2 separate regions of the Homo sapiens genome follow, and region 1 is linked to region 2. The links are contacts of gene promoters, found by promoter capture Hi-C in human tissues and cell types (Jung and others, 2019). All regions are on one chromosome and are shown on one strand. The core of a region is centred on a gene start or on the middle of the fragment in contact, and the rest is flanking DNA. Distances in the headings are between cores, read along the strand shown.

Region 1 (2,967 bases), core at 193-2,692, 46 kb after region 2:
GTAGCCGGATCCCTTATCAGATCGACTGTGGCGATGCTTCTGCTCATGTAACCCTTATTCTACCTCATAACAGCCCCACCGCTCAAGAGCAGTGATGCTGGCATATTACTATCATTGCTTTATTTCTCTATATCATTATTGTTCTTTTTTTTTTTTTTTTTGAGACAGGGCCTCACTCTGTCACCCAGGCTGGAGTGCAGTGGCATGATCTCAGCTCACTGCAACCTCTGCCTCTTGGGTTCAAGCAATTCTCCCACCTCAGCCTCCTGAGTAGCTTGGATTACAGGCACATGCCACCACGCCTGGCTAATTTTTGTATTTTTATTAGAGATGGTGTTTCACCATGTTGGCCAAGCTGGTCTCGAACTCCTGACCTCAAGTGATCTGCCTGCCTTGACTTCCCAAAGTTCTGGGATTACAGGCATGAGCCACTGCACCTGGCCTATTGTTGTTCTTAACCTCTTACTGTGCCTAATTTATGAATTAAACTTGGTCATATGTATGCATGTATAGGAAAAAACAGTACATAAGGTTCAGTACTATCCGCCATTTCAGGCATCCGCTGGGGGCCCTACAACATATCTTTGTAAGTAAGGGGGGACTGTTGTACAGTTCAGTCCCTCTTCCAGATAGCAGCCAAAACCAGGACTAGGTCTGCCAGATTTAGCAAATAAAAGTATTTTATTTAGCAACCCTATCCAGGAAGTAGTTGCTAATGTGAAATTTCAGCCACTGTGTTACATAGTGCAGTTGAAACAGGGGACTTTTTCAGAGACCCTGTCAACCCAGTAAGCTAGGGAATGATCTCAAGTTGGTTAACTCTGGCTTTGGCTACAGACTGAAGGTTAGAACTCTTCTGTCTCCCACCTGGAACAAAGAGGCCCAAAGAAGAGACCCAGCCACTTAACATATCAAAGATAAGAAAGCTCAGCCTTCTACTGGGTTGGCCCATGAAACCATGGACCTCAGGAATTATTGTCCAGATGGAGTGATATGGGGCCCAGAGGGCCCACTGGGCTCAAAACTCTCTTGTGTAGCACTGAAACTTCTCCCAACTGGCCTTGGGAGTTGGACTCTCAGAGTCAACCTAGGTATCACCAACTCCAAAAAGAAAACTATCCTAATGGCAGTCAGCTGTCTTATGTAAAGCAGAATGAAAAGACTGAGTTTTGTGATCTTGGCTCACTGTAACCTCCTCCTCCTGGGTTCAGGCAATTCTCCTGCCTCAGCCTCCCGAGTACCTAGGACTACAGGCATGCACCAACACACCCCGCTAATTTTTGTGTTTTTAGTAGAGACAGTGTTTCACCATGTTCGCCAGGCTGGTTTCAAACTCCTGACCTCAGATGATCCATCTGCCTTGGCCTCCCAAAGTGTTGGGATTATAGGTGTGAGGCACTGTGCCCGGCCAAGACTGAGATTTTTAAAGCATTTTAATGCATCTAGATTAAAACATAAGAGGCCATGAATACTCTTAATTTCTTCAACAAATATTGAGTGCTTGCTGTATGCCAAGCACCATTTCAGGTGCCAGGGATACAGTGATAAACACAAAAGTTTATGCTTTTTTGGGGGGTGGGGAATGGAGTTTTGCTCTTGTTGCCCAGGCTGGGGTGCAGTGGTGCTATCTCGGCTCACTGCGACCTCCGCCTCCCGGGTTCAAGCAATTCTCCTGTCTCAGCCTCCCAGGTAGCTGGGATTACAGGCGCATGCCACCATGCCTGGCTAATTTTTGTATTTTTAGTAGAGACGGGGTTTCATCATGTTGGTCAGGCTGGTCTCGAACTCCTGACCTCAGGTGATCTGCCCACCTTGGCCTCCCAAAGTTCTGGGATTACATGTGTGAGCCACTGTGCCTGGCAAGTTTATGCTCTTAAGAAGCTTACATTCTAGCCTGGGCAACATAATGCGACTCTGCCTCCACAAAAAAAAAAATTTTTTTTTAATTAGCTGGGTGTGGTGGCACATGCCTGTGGCCCCAGCTACTTGGGAGGCTGAGGAGGGAGGCTCACTTGAGCGCAGGAGGTCAAGGTTGCAGTGAGCCGTGATCATGCCACTTGCACTCCAGCCTGGGTGACACAGTAAGACCCTGTCTCAAAAAGAAATAAAATGGAGCTTTCATTTTCATGGGGAAGACAGACAATAAACAAACAAGAACATTCCAGATAGCAATAAGCATGTGAAGAAAACAAGGCTGGATAATGGAACAGAAAGATATGCAGGGGCTGCTATTTTAGACTGAACAGAAGCCACTCTATAAGAAGGTGATATTTGTTTTGTTTTGTTTTGTTTTGTTTTTGAGACAGAGTCTCGAGTCTCGCTCTGTCGCCCAGGCTGGATGGAGTGCAGTGGCACGATCTCAGCTCACTGCAAGCTCTGCCTCCTGGGTTCACGCCATTCTCCTGCTTCAGCCTCCCGAGTTGCTGGGACTACAGGCGCCCACCACCACGCCAGGCTAATTTTTTGTATTTTTAGTAGAGATGGGGTTTCACCATGTTAACCAGGATGGTCTCGATCTCCTGACCTCATGATCCGCCCGCCTCGGCCTCACAAAGTGCTGGGATTACAGGCGTGAGCCACTACACCCGGCCAGAAGGTGACACTTGAACTGAGGGCTGAATGGTGAGGAGTCAGCGAGGCAAGATCTGGAAACCAGTTCTCCAGACAGACAGAATAATAAGTGCAAACAATCATAGGTAGGAACTAGCCCAGTGTGTCCAAAAACCCAGAGTGAGGAAAGGAGAGAGCTCTACAAGATGAGATCATAGAGGTGGAGGGGCCTTGGAAGGAGAATGGCTTTTATATAAGTGTAACAGGAGGGTTTGAAACAAGCGTCATTGCCTAGCTTGTGTTTCAGAGAGATGACTGCAGCTGCTGTGTGGAGACTGCATTAGGGTTTCAAGCCTAGAGGCAGGAAGCTGGTTCAGAGGCTGCTGAAGGCATCTAGGAATAACGGGATGGTAGTAG
Region 2 (2,807 bases), core at 271-2,770:
CTCCTTCTCAAAAAAATAAAAAAAAAAATTTAAAAAATTATATTAAGGAATTATTGTAAATTTTTTTAGGTGTCATAACAGCACTTAGGTTATGCAGGAAAATGTCCTTATTTCTTGGAGATGCATAATGAAATATTTAGAAGAGAAATGTCATGATGTCTATCATTCATGTTTAAATACTAAAAAGAAGCAAATATTGTAAAACATCAATAACCATTAAGTATGGATGATGAGTATGTAAGTATTCATTATGCATTTCTGTCCTTTTTAAATTTTATTTTATTTTACTGGAAAGCAAGAGAGGAAGGAGATCAAATCTGAACTTAAGAAGCTCACTCCCCTACTTATTGGATGACTAGAGTGGAAGCAAAAGAGCAGTTACTAGCTGATTGCTGCAGTGGTCGTGGTGAAAGAGCACAGTGTTTCAGTTCAGGTAGTGAGGATGGACAGAAGTGGACTGATGGGAGATGTATTTTGCAGGGAGAAACCATAAAATGATTGATAGCCTCGAGGTGGCACAGACGGAGAGAAAGGAGAGTCAAAGCTAATGATGAGGCCAGGCCCGGTAGCTCACACCTGTAATCCCAGCATTTTGGGAGGCGAAGGCCGTTGGATCACCTGAGGTCAAGAGTTCAAGACCATCCTGGCCAACAAGGTGAAATCCCATCTCCAATAAAAATGCAAAAATTAGCCGGGCAAGGTGCTGTGCGCCTGTAATTCCAGCTACTAGGGAGGCTGAGGCAGGAGAATGGCTTGAACCCAGAAGGTGGACATTGCAGTGAGCCAAGATCACGCCAGTATCCAGCCTGGCCAACAGAGCAAGACTCCATCTCAATAAAAAATAAATAAAAGCTAATGATGACAGCTAATATGTATGGAGCATGTAGTATGCACCAGTCCAGTCATCCTTCTAAGTGATCCATATTAGTGTAACGAACAAAATCTTCACAATCACTGTGTGAGGCGGGTAGTAACTATTAACACCTCCACTTTGCAGATCAGGAAACTTGGACGCAGACAAGTTAAACAAGGTGCCCAAGGTCATACCCTTAGTAGATGCCCTGCTAGAACTGGAATCTAGGCATGCCTAACCATTTTTTCTTAAGGAAGAGAACAGTATCTTCAATGACAATGAGTAAGAGTACTTATTCTACCCACTTTTCTGCTTCTTGTCTTCGGGTTTATCGTTCTGGACCCACCTATCTTTCCTGGCCCCCCACTTAACTTAACCCTTTTCACCCACCCTGGGGCGGGGAGACAGAGGTGATCCTAGAAGAGGGCTACAGGGATGGGGCCAAGTGGGAATTCTAGCGAGGCGCCTACTATTTGATGGAGGAGGGATGGGCTAGGTAGGTCCCCCGCTCCGACAGGGCTCTTACGCCATATGTGACGCAAATTAGCTTACGAGCCGGGGGTGGAGGTGTCGTCAGCACCCGCCTGCGGTTGGCCGCGTTGCAGCGAGAGGGGCATGTAGACCCCGCCTCGTAGGGAGGTGGGGAGCGGCAAGCCCCGCCTCAGCCCCTCTGGCAGGCTCCCGCCAGCGTCGCTGCGGCTCCGGCCCGGGAGCGAGCGCCCGGAGCTCGGAAAGATGCGGCGCCCGCGGCGGCCTGGGGGTCTCGGGGGATCCGGGGGTCTCCGGCTGCTCCTCTGCCTCCTGCTGCTGAGCAGCCGCCCGGGGGGCTGCAGCGCCGTTAGTGCCCACGGTCAGGAGGAAACTTGGGCTGGCGGGTGGTGGGGGGCGGGGAGCAGCTTGGGGCCTGGAGCGAAACTCGGTGGGGGTGAGGGTGAAATGTCATGAAGCTCGGGGAGAATATGGGTTGGGGGAGGCATGCGAGATGAGGAAGGTGAGAGGGCGTCTCGGAGGAAAGGGGCGTAGGCCTGGAGGTGGGGCTGGGAATACGGGGGCGGGACCTAAGAGAATTGGGCTCTGGGGAAAATTGCAGGTTCGGGAGAAGGACACGGGGTGCATGTGGGCAGAGGGACTTAGAGACCGGCTGCGAGACCACAGGAGAAGCCACTTGCTCCGAGGCGCCTGGGAGGTGGTGACAGGCGCTGAGGAATGGGAAGGGGAGGTGGCGGGGAGAATGAGGGAACGGTGATCTCTGGGCAGTGGAAGCCTGGGCCGCAGACATAGAGTCCCAGCTGGGCAGAGAGAGAGGCCAGGGTTTCTCCGTAAGCCTAGAGAAGCTGATTGCAGCGATCTGATCTCCTGTAACGGGGGACAGCACGGGGAGGGGGCAGAAGAGGATGAAGAGGGGAGGGTCCTCTCTTGTCCCCCTCCCCACAGCCAGGCCTGGTGCTGACTCACATCTGTGCGGACAGAGACAGTCAGCGCTGACTCACGGACAGGGGGTGGGGGATGGGAGGGTGGCGCGTGGGGGAAGGGGCGCAGCCTCGCCGCCTGGCGCCCTCTTTCCCCACCCGGGCTTGGAGGCCCGAGAGGCAGAGTACTTCCTGTGACGCTGTGGGTTGGCAGAATACAACAGAGGGCTCAGGTCTAGTGGAGAGTCCTCGCTCTGTGACCCCTTCCTCTCTGGTAACCGCCTCCAAGGCCAGCCCTTGGCGGCGCCAGACTCAGAGCTTCAGCACCGCGGACAGCGCCAGCGGCTCGGGACAGCGCGAGGAGAGATGCCTAAGAGACACCCTCCCCAGCCCCACCCATGCCCTCTTTCCCCCGACCGGGGGAAGTGTGCTAGAACCTCTTCTGAGTTCCAGGCCATTATAGGATGCTTTTCCATATTTGGGAAGGAAATTCCTCTTTCAGAATTTGGCCAAAACCTCTCCTGCAGTAATTCTATGAATCTCTC

What was found. Contacts are between HindIII fragments. The study calls those that stand out against the background at their distance.
Region 1: a contact is called between a fragment that was not itself captured here and the fragment with the promoter of PTPRN in region 2, in 2 of the 25 tissues and cell types used here (liver and mesenchymal stem cells).

What each region holds. Positions count from the first base shown.
Region 1 is chr2:219,261,654-219,264,620 of GRCh38, reverse strand. The region is part of intron 1 of TUBA4B (tubulin alpha 4b); the gene reads right to left. Among named protein-coding and RNA genes, the nearest start is that of TUBA4A, 9.2 kb to the right of the region's middle. The HindIII fragment of the contact is 3,379 bases long and covers 1-2,967 here.
Region 2 is chr2:219,308,114-219,310,920 of GRCh38, reverse strand. It overlaps PTPRN (protein tyrosine phosphatase receptor type N), which reads left to right and starts at 1,520. Exons shown (of 23, transcript NM_002846.4): 1 at 1,520-1,703. The coding sequence starts at 1,589. The HindIII fragment of the contact is 13,898 bases long and covers 1-2,807 here.